3 separate regions of the Homo sapiens genome follow, and regions 1 and 2 are each linked to region 3. Evidence: promoter capture Hi-C in human tissues and cell types (Jung and others, 2019). All regions are on one chromosome and are shown on one strand. Each heading gives the region's core, a stretch centred on a gene start or on the middle of the fragment in contact. The rest is flanking DNA. Distances are from core to core; before and after follow the strand shown. Region 1 overlaps ACER3 (alkaline ceramidase 3). Region 2 overlaps ACER3 (alkaline ceramidase 3). Region 3 holds the start of TSKU (tsukushi, small leucine rich proteoglycan).

Region 1 (4,341 bases), core at 1,567-4,066, 110 kb before region 3:
GATTACAACAGATTAAATGCAAAAGCATATATGAAAATCCAGCTGACTTCAATAGAAAAAAAATCCACATATAAAGCTCTTCTGGATTCTCAATAATTTTAGGAGAAGAAGGTGGTCCTGAAAGCAAAAAGTTTGAGAAAAAGAGGGTACAGCACTAGTCTAACATACATCTCAAAGTCTATCACAGGATCAAGCCAATCTTCTATTCACAGGCTGCCAGAATTGGGAGGATTCAAGGGGGTAGAGGGGTCGTCTTTAGCAAAGTTCCCATAATATACTTCTGTTTCAAAGATTTCTACTTAGTGGGACAGTAGTGAGAAAGCTTGGAGGGGGGATTCTACTAGTCTTTTCTTTTTTTTTTTAAGACAGGGTTTCATCATGTTGCCCAGGCTGGTCTCGAACTCCTAAGCTTAAGCGATCTGCCCGCCTTAGCTTCCCAAAGTGCTGAGATTACAGGCGTGAGCCACCAGGCCCACCCCACTAGTTTTTTTTATGCCCCTTAACTATGGCATAGGAGGACAAAAATGAAGAATAAAACTTCACGAAAGGTTCTGATGCAACTCTGGAAGCATGGGCTTTTGTACAACAGTAAGGATCCAATGAATAGTACCTGTGTAAAGATGTTTCAAGAATTTGAACAGTTGAAATAATCCCTTTTCAGAATCCCTTTCATATCCAAACAGCAAAGAAGTTTTCCTATTCTAACAAGCAAAAATTTAAAGGGGCAATAATTAAAAATTAGTTTAAAATTAGGTGTTCCAAAATGGTTCCAGATATGGGAACCTTTTTATTGCATAACTCCAGGGTTTTCCCAGGTCTTAGTTGGTGATTATGGTTGTCCAGTAAAACAACAAACTGGAAATATAAAGAGGAAAGAACAGGGGGACTAAGAGAAATGGACCCAGAGCCCTGAATTATGTTTTCAGTATATATAATTTCAATCCTTTTGTTGGCTATATAGTATTCTATTATAAGGCCACATCATATTTCATTTACAAAATTGTCTATTAAGCAACATTTAGCTTATTTCCAATTTTTACTGTCAGCCAATGCTATAATAAACAATGTACAAAAAAATCTTTCGTGAATATTAAAAAAACATTTTTTACTTATGGCAGGCTGCTTGCAGTTTCATCTTCACACATAGGTACTTGTTTTCTTTTCTCTGCCCTTAAGGGTGCTTCGGTGGAAAAATTTAAGAAGCAGTGACCTAATCAATTTTCCTCATTTTGCAAATGAGGGAAATAGAGAAGCTAAAAAGTCAACTAGCTTGTCTACATGTATACAGTAAGCATCAGAAGCAGACTCAAACCAGAGTGTCCTGATTGTAGGTTAAATACTTCCTTCCTCAGCCCTATTATATCTCTCTTTCTACTTTTTCTCTTCCTGGTACCAGAGAATACATTTAAAAATTATTTCCTTCTGCTCGTGGCCCTAAACAAAAATACAAAGTCTTTATATGTTGTGCAGTGTTTCCTGCTAGTGACATAGAGAACCTGGGTACAAGGGGAATGAAGAAAGTGGAACCATAATTGAGGCAAATATGAAGTTACATAAAATCATTAAAACAATATGATATTGAGATATAGAAGAGATATCAATAAAACAGGCTAGAAAGTTCAAATATCTGCCCAAAAACATATGGGATTTAGTATATAATAATGTTGACATTTCAAATCATTAATAGTAGAAAGGAAGTATTCAGTAAATGGTATTGAGGCAACTGGGTAAAAATTATCTTGAGATCAATTAAATTGAATCCTTTCTCCACATTATACACTAGGCTATATTCCAAATATATTTTAAAATATATAATAATAAAGTATTAAAACTACTGGGGGAAAAAACACTCCATGACCACTGCAACATAAAATACCTCATTGGGAATTTCTGCCTTGAGCTATCCTGAAGCCAAAATTTATCAGACAGATCTTGGTGATTCAATCCAGAGATGAAGCAGGCCTCCATGCAGATTAAGATCCTAAGGGAGTTTGCTCCTTGATTATCTTGCATACCCTCAATGCTTGCCTGTCCTCTTCCTTCTTTTGTTATACTGTTTCCTTTGCCTTTAAATGAAATATTCTCTAAGGAGACTTTCAGTCCTTTCAAATATCCAAACTTGTGACATCTTTGCAATATTTTCCATACACTTTCATGAATGTAAAAAATCAGTCATATGGCCCAGCTCATATTCTTGTCAAAAACTTCTACATTTTATGCCACTTTATGGTTTATAAATATATCCATTAACATTTAATTCCCAAAGTAACCTTGTAAGGGAGTAGTCTCACTATTTACTAGAGAAACTGAGGCTCCAAAGATTAAATGACTTACCAACAGCTGCTCAACCAGTAAGAGGCAGAAATGGATTAAAACCTAAGTCTAAGCATATTAATTATACTATGTGGCCTCCAATTTTTGTGACAATTACATGTCTATGATATACCTACAGTAAATTTGAGAGTTTAAGGTAATACCATTGAATCCTGACGAGGCTTATTGAAAGAAAGACACAATGGTATCTGCATTTATCTAATTATTAAAGAGGTAACTTAGTTTTGTATTTGTTTGTTTTTGAGACAGGGTCTAGCTCTGTCTCCAAGGCTTGAGTGCAGTGGCATAACCACGGCTCACTACAGCCTCGATCTCCTGGGCTCAAGTGATCCTCCTACCTCAGCCTCCTGAGTAGCTGGGACTAAAGGAGTGTACCACCACGCCCAGCTAATTTTGTAATTTTTTGTAGAGACAGGGTCTTGAACTGGTCTTGAACTCTTGGGCTCAAGCGATCCTTCCACCTCAGCCTCCCAAAGTGCTGGAATTATAGGCATGAGCCACCGTGCCTGGCTGGTAATTTAGTTTTTAACAGCAATATATAATGCTGATGCCAAGAAGTTGAACATATTCATTCCTTCACTCCACAAATGAATGAACACCTATGGTGGGGCTTAGGCACTGCATTAGGTAAAGCTCACAGTTTTAGTTAAAATAACAGACATTTTAAAGCAGAAAAACAAATAACTTTTCAGTTCATGGATTAAAAAAAGGTAGTTTGAATTTAATTGCATTATCTGATGTTACAAATTCTTAAGAAAGCCATTAACCAAAATGTATATGGTAGTTTAGAGTGTATGAAATCATTACATTGTCTAATTTGATCCTCAAAACAAATCTATGAAGTATTTTCTCTCTCTCTCTGTTTTTTGAGATAGGATCTCGCTATGTTGCCCAGGCTGGTCTCAAACTTCTGGGCTCAAGCATTCCTTTGCCTCAGCCTTCCTGGTAGCTGGGATTACAAGCACGAGCTACTACATCCACCCTATGAGGTATTTTCAATCCAATTTGACAGCTAAGGAAGGTGAAAATCAAAATTAAGTAGTTTGTATAAATATATATAAGATCACACAGCCTGTAAATGGCAAAGTCATGATTCAAATATAAGGATATTGATTATAAAATTTATTTTCTTTTACTTATTTATTTTTTTAGAGATGGGGTCTTGCTTGGTCACCCAGGCTGGAGTAGAGTGGCGTGATCATAGCTCCCTGCAGCCTTGAACTCCTGGGCTCAAGTGATCCTCCTGCTTCAGCCTTCCAACTGGCTGGGACTACAGGCACGTGTCACTATGCCCAGCTAGTACTGTCATTTTAGCAATATTAATTCTTCTGATTCATGAGCGTGGGATGTCTTTCCATTTGTTTGTATCCTCATCAATTTCTTTCATCAGCATTCTGTAGTATTCCTCACAGAGGTCTTCTACCTCCTTAAATTTATTCCTATGTAATTTTTTGTAGCTAATATAAACGAGGTTGCATTCTTGATTTATTTTCAAGCTAGTTCACTGTTTGTGTATAGAGATGCTAATTTTTGTATATTAATTTTATATCCTGCAACTTTACTGAATTTATTGATCAGTTCTAAAAGGCTTTCGGTAGAGTCTTCAGGTTTTTCTATATAAAGGTCACGTCATCCACAAACAGGGACAATTTGACCTCCTCCTTGTCAATTTGGATGCTTTTAATTCCTTTCTTTCTCGTGACAAATTGCTCTGGCTAAGACTTTCTGAATTTATTTAATTTAACTTAATTTCTTAAACAGTGTTTCTTATATCAAGTTCCTCAGCAGTAAGACAAAAATTAGACTAGAAAATAAAAGTTTTAAAATTTAAAAAAAATTCCCAAATCTCTCAAATGAATTATGCTAGTTCTACCAGAATCCTTTGGGCCAAGTTCTACTGGAACAAGATATTATTTTCTAGGGTACTCACTGAGCGAGTGTCAGCTTTTAAAGGTCTGAAAAAAACTGCTTTAAAGAAAACCAGAGAAAATGGGGTCAGTCAGCCAA
Region 2 (4,527 bases), core at 1,283-3,782, 94 kb before region 3:
ATTTCTACTCAACATTGCCCTGGAGGTCCTAGCCAGTGCAATAGCACAAGCAAAAGAAATAAAATGCATAAAGATTGGAAAGAAAGAAGTGAAACTTCTATTTGAAGATTACATGATTAAATGATGCTAAAATAACTGGATATGCCTATTAGGAAAAAATAAACTTCAATCCCTACCTTACACCATATGTGACAATAAATCTGAGATGGATATAGACCTGAATATAAAGCAATTAACTATAAAGCTTCCAGAAGAAAATATGGTAATAGACAAGCTATGAAAAGCAATAACCATAAGAGAAAAAGCTGATCAATTAGACTTCATCAAAATGTACTACTTCTCATCAAAAAAACACCTTTAAAAAATGAAGTAGGGAGACAGGGAGAAAACAGTCACAAAACATCCATTTGGCAAATGGACTTATATTCTGGATATGAAAGGAGCCCCTATTACTCAATGATAAAAAGACAATCCAATTTTTTTAAATGGGCAAAAGATTTGAAAAGATACTTCACAAAAGAAGATATACAGATGACCAAGAAGCACAAGAAAATATGCTCAACATCCTCAGACATCAGGTAAATGCTAATTAAAATTACAATGAGATACCACTACACACACTCCAGAATGGATAAAATTAAGAAGCATGATAACACCAAACATTGTTGGGGATGTGGAGCACCTAAAACTTCCATGATGAGAATGAAAAATGATACATCACTGTGGAGAAAAAGTCTTACAGGCTCTTAGAAAACTAAACATAAACCAACCCTAACCTGGCAATTCCAATCCTAGATATTTATTCAAGAAAAATGAAAATATACATTCACAAAAAGACTTGTATAAGAATGTTCAACTTCATGCATAATAGCCAAAAACTGGGAACAGCCCAGGTATCTGTCAATAGGAAAACAGATAAACTATTACATTCATACAGTGGGATACCACTCAGCAATCAAAAGAAACATACTACTGATACAACACATAGAAAAATCTCATTTCTCAAAAATACGAATCTTAAATGGATTAATAAAGATTTAACTTTTTTCAGTTTTAACTTCTAATACAGTAAATACCAATAGATTTAACTCACAGAGCTCTTTGGGGTCTTCAATAATTTTTAAATGTGTAAAGGGGTCATGAGACCAAAAAATTCGAGAATTTCTATTAGGTCATTGCAAAAGTAATTGAGGGTTTTGCCATTGAAAGTAATGGCAAAAACCGCAATTACTTTTGCACCAACCTAATAGTTAAAGTTGAATATGAGCATGACCTATATTCTAACAATTACACTCCTAAGTATACACAGAAACCCTTACATTTCTGTGTACCAGAAGATGCACAAGAATGTTCACAGCAGCCTTATCTGTAACAGCAAAAACCTGGAAACAACAAAATGTCCAATGATTAAAGAATGGATAAATGAATGTATTCATACAGTGGAATTCTAAACAACAGCAAAAATAAATGAATTATATCTACATCCATCAACACAGTCAATTCTCAGGAGCATGAATGATACTAATAAGCACAATTTGTGTTTAAAAAAAAAAAGCAAGCTGTGGAAGAATGTACATATAGTACAATTCCACTTATATAAAATATAAAACAAGCAAACCTGAACAGTTTATTTTTAGGAATGCAAAGTGGTAAAAGCTAGGAAATGATAAACACTAAATTAAGTATACTGGTTATCTCCAGAGGAAAAGGAAGAAGATGGGATCAGGGAAGGACACAGAGGGTGCTAAATGTTTCTTCAATGATGACTGCTCTTAACCAAAGGACTGTCCTCCTTTATCAAGGTCATAATTCTCTTCATTTGTCAACCTTTAGGTTGGACTTTCTGAACACAAAACAGCCATCTGATTGACAAGATTAATTAGATCAACTCTAGTGATCAATGGGATTTCAGGAGACAAAGACAGATTGCCCTCATATCTGCTTAAAAAAAGAAATGGGGGGGAAAAAAAGGAAAAATTGCTACTCAGAAGGTGAAATAGCTTAGAAACCATAATGTTTCATTTCAGGAAAAGTATCTTATCTAGAATCTCTCCTTATCATTTTGTATAAATGAATAAGTGAGTGAAGATCATAAAAACACAGCTTTTATAGCAGCATCAAGATTTTAACATGCATAGTTTTGGAGTTCTGACTCTAGCCAGTCCTTCTACTTGCTGTTAAAAGCTGCATGCTCTGAAAAGTTAAAGAACATATGTTAGAGCGAGAGTCTACACCTATGATGAGTCAAAGATTTTTTTTCCAGCTTCAAAACTGAATTATTTCAACCCTGAGGTACTTACTTGCTTTCATTGGGTAAAATAACTCTTTGGAGTCTTGAGTACATTGCAGGTATAAATAAAATGATGCTTATAAAATTTTTTGAAATCTTCAGATGGGCTTATAAAAGTACTAATCTTTATTCTTTAGTCTCATCTTCTAAGAATAAAAGGCATGGTATAATATGACATACTCTGAGTTTTCACAACAGAAAATCAAAATTTCTCAAAACTCAACTTCAGACACAGTTTTCAGTTATTTATTGCTGAATAACCATCACAAACTTCATGATTTTAAAACAAATTTATTATTACCTCTCATGGGAACAATATGAACAATAAAAAGTGCACAGGGTATTAATGTATATGTAAATAGCTTGTTTTGGCAAGACTGAAATGTAAGTAGGGCAAGGAAACGAAAGAAGACAAGAGTTAAAAATAAACTGGATAGCACAATGAGATACAACCACACATCCACCAGAATGACTAAAATTTGAAAAATTGACACTAAATGTTGACAAGGATGTGGATCAAATGCTCTGTGTGTAAAATGGTACAACCACTTTGGGAAAAGGTCTAGCAGTATCTAATAAAACTAAACATACACATACTCTATGACCCAATTATTCCAATCCTAAGCATTTACCTATGAGAAACGAAAATATATATCCACAAAATGATCTGCCCAAGAATGTTTATAGCAGCTTTACTTATAATTGTCCACACCTAAAAACAGCCATGTGTCCATCAACAGGAAAATGGGTTAATAAACTGGTATATTCATACAGTGGAATCCTACCACATAGCAATATGGATGAATCTCAAAAACATGCTGAACAAAAGAAGCCTTACCCGAAATAGTAAATACTAGACAAGTCCATTTCTATGCAGTTCTAGAACAGGCAAACCTAATCTATGGTAGGGAAAAAAAAAAAATCAGAACAGTGGTTGTGCTGGAAAGAAGGGGTAAGATGGAGGTGGGGATTAACAGAGAAGGGGCATGAGGGAACTTTCCTGGCTGATGGTAAAGTTCCACATCTTGATAGAGGTTGTTACATAGGTGTATGCATTTCTCAAAATCCAGCAAAAATAACTTAAGATTTGTGTATTACAGGCTGGGCGTGGTGGCTCATGCCTGTAATCCCAGCACTTTGGGAGGCTGAGGTGGGTGGATCACCTGAGGTCAGGAGTTCAAGACCATCCTGGCCAATATGGTGAAACCATGTCTCTACAAAAAAATGAAAAAATTAACTGGGTGTGGTGGCACGTGCCTGTAATCCCCTGTCTCTACTAATAATACAAAAATTAGCCGGGTGTGGTGGTGCTCTCCTATAATCCCAGCTACTTGGGAAGCTGAGGCAGGAGAATCGTTTGAACCTGGGACGGGGAGGTTGCAGTGAGCTGAGATCATGCCACTGCACTCCAGCCTCGGCAACACAGTGAGACTCCACAAAAAAAAAAAAAAAAAAAAAAAACAACAAAAACTGTGTATTACATTGAATGTAAATTTTACATCAAAAGAAAAAAAAAACAAGGAATTAAACTTTAATGATATGCTTTAGTATTTAGAGGAAAGCAAACAGATGTCTGCAGTTTACTTCGAAATGTATCAAAAAATAAAATGAACTGATGGATGGAGAAAGGAATGGAAAAATGAATCGGTATGTGATAAAAACAAGTGTAATAAAATGTTAATGGTAGAATTGAGATAGTGGGTGAATGGATATTCACTGAAGAATTCTTCCAACTTTGTTGTATGCATAAAAATTTCATCTTAAAAAAATGAAATGTTGGCCGGGCGCGGTGGCTCACGCCTTTATGTAATCCCAGCACTTTGGGAGGCTGAGGTGGATGGATCACGAGGTAAGGAGATCGAGACCAGTCTGGCCAACATAGTGAAACCCCATCTCTACTAAAAATACGAAAATTAGCCCGGTGTAGTGGCCTGCGCCTGTAATCCCAGCTACTAGGGAGGCTGAGGCACAAGAATCACTTGAACCCAGGAGGTGGAGGTTGCACTGAGCCAAGATCTCACCACTGCACTCCAGCCTGGCAACAGAGTGAGATTCCATCTAAAAAAAAAAAAAAAAAAAAAAAAAAGAAGTGCTTTTCATGCCATGTTAGAATTTGGTCTTTATGCTTTAGTCAATAGAAAGTCCTCAAAGGGAAACAGAAAAAGCACCTAATTCTCTAAGAAGTAATCAGTCAAGATTTAAAGAGATATCCACTGACTCAGAGAATGCAGTTACAA
Region 3 (4,099 bases), core at 302-2,801:
GTTAGCGGCCTGTGCCCTTCCATCATGTCTGCAGCATCCGACAAAGTTCTAGGTTAAAGACTGGAGTGAGCAGTGGGGAGGAGGGTGTTTACGGTTATCTTTGCGACTTAGGCTCAAAAGCCCAGCAGGCTCCTGCAGCTCTGAGCACCCCCCCCCCCCCACCTCCGGTCAGCCCCAGGCACTGCAAGTCTAGACTTATCCGAAGGGCAGGGCGCACAAAGATGAAAGAAGAATCGAAGGTCTTGAGTCACCTCCTCGCCAGGCCAAGTGTGGGCTGGCGCTGCTCTCCGCCCGGCTCCAGAGGCGCGGGTTATTCCCACCGCACGCCCCGAGCCGCGAGGGAGTTCTCGCCCTGTCCGTGCCAGAGTGACCGCGACTCCGCGAAGCTGAGCAACTTGCCAGCGCCGCACAGGGGCCAGTGGCCGTCCCAGTTGAAACCTGTGTATGTGAGGCTCCCACGGCCCCCAGCCCAGCTCCGGGTCCTGTGAGCCGGCGCCTCGGGCATGCCCAGATCTGGACTGGCAGTCCCCCTCTCCCCTACCGGGTCCGAGGGTTGGCCCCCTACCCCGGGGGCGGGCTGCAAACGGAGAGTGGGTCTCAAAGCGGAGCCTGTCTCCCTACCAAACAGACGCAACTCTGGATCACACTCTTTCCAAGAAGCGCGGGGAGGGCAACGCCAGCCGCCCTGTCCCTTCCTCTCCCCAGCCCAGGGCCGGAGCCTGGGACCCACCGCTCGCCTCTTCCTCCCAGCCGGGGTCTGAGGGGGAGTCCGCACGCTCCGCCCAGCCCCTGCCCAGCCAGTCCCCAGGCGCTGCCGATCCCCCGACCACCAATCCCGTCGCAGCCCCTTGCTGTCCTGGGACCTCAGGAGGGGGAGGGGGAGGGCTGTCTGCGCCCCCGGCCGGGTAGCGGTGGGGAGGACTGGGGCTGTTGCCCGAGGAACCGGGAGAAAAGTTTGGAGCCAAGTCGTGGGCCCGAGGGGACGGCGGGGGAGCGGGGGGGTGGGGCGGCGTTGGGCTCTCGGTGCGCACACCCTCTGCGGACACCCAGCCCAGACACGTCGGCAGGCACCGACCACGTACGCGGAGACACGCGATGCGCCCACCGACGCCCACAGCCAAGCGCAGGCCCGCAAACGTGGACACGGGCGCAAAGCAGCCGCGCAAAGCCACGGACACACAAAGGCACCGACAGCGGCGCGTCCCCGACCGCAAATCCACAAAGACCCACAAACGTGAGATGCACGTGTCCGCACAAAGACCCACACGGCCCCTGGGCGTAGCCTTTGTCTCCCGCAAGACCTCTCCCCTGGGTCGGCGTTCCCCACTCCCGCCCAGCCCTAGGCGTCCGACGAAAGTTGAGGGGCCTCGGCGGGACCCAGCCCCGCCCCTGCGCCCGGCGTCCCCAGCCCGCCCTCCGAAGGGGCCGCGAGGCTAGGATCGGGGACTTGGGATCTTCAACCGCAGCGCGGACTCTCGCCCCGCCCGGGGAACTGCACTCACCTGGAAGCCTGCGCCACAGCCGCCTCGGCACGCTCACCCCGGCGGCCCGGCCGCGGGCCCTCCGGCCAGCGCTTTTCTCCGCGCGGCGCGGCCCGCCCCCCGGTCCCCGCCCGCAGCCAGGCTCCCCCCTGCCGGGCGCCGGGTGGCGGCTCGGGCCGGCCGCGGGGCGGCTCAGGGAGTGTCGCCAAAGTGCCAGCCTCTCTCGGCGCGCGCCCCGCCCGCGGAGCCTGAGCCGAGCCCGGGTTCCACTCTAGGGAGCGTCTCAAAAGTGCGCTGCTCCCGCCCCCTCTAGTTGGCCTCGCTCACAGCTTCCTGCATCCCGGATCCCTGCCCCCTCCCCCTGCGCGCCCCAGCAATCTAAGCAGATGGCCGCACTGTCGGGAACATCTGGAGGTCGCCGGAGTACGTGCCTGTGTATGTGTATGTGTGTGTATGACTGTGTGTGTGGAAAGAGAGAGGGAATTAGTTGCTAGTAAGAAAGAGATTTGGTGGGTGGGTGAGGGCTTCCTCTTTGCTTGTTCACCGCCCCTCCCCATTTTTTTTTAAAGAGTGAAAGAGGTTCAGGGACTACCGGGAGCAAGAAACCAAGAATCTGAAGCAGAGAAAGACTGGCTGAAAGACGAACCCACAGAGAAGAGAGAGCCCGGCTCGGGCAGAAAAGCTGGCAGGAGAGGAGAGAGAAAGTCAACAGATTGAGTTTTTCTTTTAGGAGGAAACCATTGGCTTCTGGTTAGAGTTCTAAGAAGGGAAACTGGCGTGTGAGTAGGCAGCAGTTTCAGTCTATTCCCCCTGCTGTAGCTCTTGGGCTCTCACCCCTCTTTATGTTAAAAAAAAAAAAAAAGGGCAGGAAAGCATCCAAGACACTTTAAAATGAGGGTTTGCAGGAGAAATGACCTGGTGGACGCATTTCCTAGGAGGGGAGAGTCAGGTGTGTGGGTGGCTCCCAGTCTACACACCCCGACAATGCCTACCTTGGGAGAGGGGCAGTTCACAGGTGGGAGAGTTGATAGAGGCTTTGGTCTTGGGCCCTGGACCTCCCAGGAGCTTCTCCTAGACTTTGGAGGGCCTCGGGGTGCAGAAATTGGGCAATGTACCTCCTGCAGTGGCCCAGACTTGTTAACACACCCAGTCTGCTTGCTGCTTCTTTCCTTATTACTTTTTCTTATTCATTAAAAAAAAAAAAAAAAAAAGGAGTTGCTTGGGCCTGTGTGTGCATGCATGCCGGTCTACTTGGGGAAGAAGGAAGACACTAGAGAGGTGGTGAGGTAGGAGTGGAGACCACTGCCCCAGGCCTCAGGCCAGCAAAATCATCTGCTGCCCAGAAAACAAACTGGTCTTGCAGGTCCTTTCTGCACTCAGAGCCATTGTGTGGTCTTGGGGATGCACTTGGGTTGACACCTGTGGACCCTGCCAGTTAGGAATGTGCAGAGAAAAGGCTAGGAGCCTGGTCTCATATGTGTGGAAGCAGGGAGAACTCCCGTCTCTCCTCTCCATTCATTGTCCTCTCCTGATTAGAATCCCAGCTTTCAGAACTAGGAGTCCTTCTGTGATCATCCAGCTCACACTCCTTATCAGTCTTTGGGATGGCACCATGGGCCCTTTGGTATCCAGTGTCTTCCTCACTGTTGGGCTTAAAAGGGCTGCAGGGATTCAACTCCACAACCCCTGGGACCCATAGAGAGGAGTCGGGCCCCTCCCATTTCCCACCCTCCCATTCCCTCCCCTCTCTAAAGGCTCCTGGCCTAGATGGGAGAGAGACCTGCAATCAGCATCGGGTGAGGGCCAAGCTTGGTCAGGATTCAGGTTCCAGCCCTGCCACTTACCAGCTCTGGGTAACTTTAGGCAAGTTACCTAACCTCTCTGAGACTCAGTGTCTGCAACTGTAGAAGAGGCTATTGTGAGGAATAAACAAGGTAATTTAGGTAAAGCATTAGTCTGGCTCACAGGAAGCTCCTTTGTGTGGTTGCTAAATGTCTTCCGTCAGGGACTGGGGTAGAGACTGGAAAGCCCAGCAGGCTTGGGAGGGGAGGGTGCCCGGGAATGACCTCTGGACTCCCTGGCTTGTCTAGCTTATATTCCTCCTGCTTCCTCCCCTCCCATAGGGACATTCTTTTGAAGGAATGGCGCCCCCCTCCCCTTGCCCTAGACTAACGATTTCCATCCTCTCCTCCATGTGGAATTGTTTAGCGAGTCTCAAGTTCAGCATCTGAGAACTGGAGATGAAAATACCCAACTGCCCGGGAACTCAGGGAAGCTAACTCCCACTGCACTGTGTGTGCAGGTTCTAGCCAGCTGGGCTGGAGGCTCCAGGCCTCACATTTAACATAAAAGTAATCAACAACCCTTCACACTGGCTGGTAGCTGGCAGCAGTTTCTGAGCACTTTCACATTCATCATTTCCCTTGACCTCCCCTTAGGGAGAGGTGGCCTTGAGGGGCTTCAGCTGGTGGATCTCCATGAACTTTACCCACCTCCCCTCATCACTGTGCCTCCAGTTGAGAGTCTCTGTGCCTCTAGACTCTCCTCTTCTGTCTGCTGTCCACATTCCAGCAAGAGTGCCCTTTCTAAACTGCAGATCTGCAGAATGGATCATGACA

Evidence for each region. Contacts are between HindIII fragments. The study calls those that stand out against the background at their distance.
Region 1: a contact is called between a fragment that was not itself captured here and the fragment with the promoter of TSKU in region 3, in 2 of the 25 tissues and cell types used here (spleen and thymus).
Region 2: a contact is called between a fragment that was not itself captured here and the fragment with the promoter of TSKU in region 3, in 2 of the 25 tissues and cell types used here (dorsolateral prefrontal cortex and mesendoderm cells).

The regions. Positions count from the first base shown.
Region 1 is chr11:76,892,514-76,896,854 of GRCh38, reverse strand. The region is part of intron 1 of ACER3 (alkaline ceramidase 3); the gene reads right to left. Among named protein-coding and RNA genes, the nearest start is that of ACER3, 34 kb to the right of the region's middle. The HindIII fragment of the contact is 4,899 bases long and covers 367-4,341 here.
Region 2 is chr11:76,874,957-76,879,483 of GRCh38, reverse strand. All of the region lies in intron 1 of ACER3 (alkaline ceramidase 3), which reads right to left. Among named protein-coding and RNA genes, the nearest start is that of ACER3, 16 kb to the right of the region's middle. The HindIII fragment of the contact is 5,570 bases long and covers 1-4,527 here.
Region 3 is chr11:76,780,808-76,784,906 of GRCh38, reverse strand. It overlaps TSKU (tsukushi, small leucine rich proteoglycan), which reads right to left and starts at 1,551. Exons shown (of 2, transcript NM_015516.4): 1 at 1,503-1,551. TSKU-AS1 (TSKU antisense RNA 1) reads left to right here and starts at 1,845. Exons shown (of 2, transcript NR_120562.1): 1 at 1,845-1,904; 2 at 2,051-2,326. RefSeq lists a silencer at 1,605-1,694 and enhancers at 1,246-1,890, 2,125-2,314. The HindIII fragment of the contact is 14,629 bases long and covers 1-4,099 here.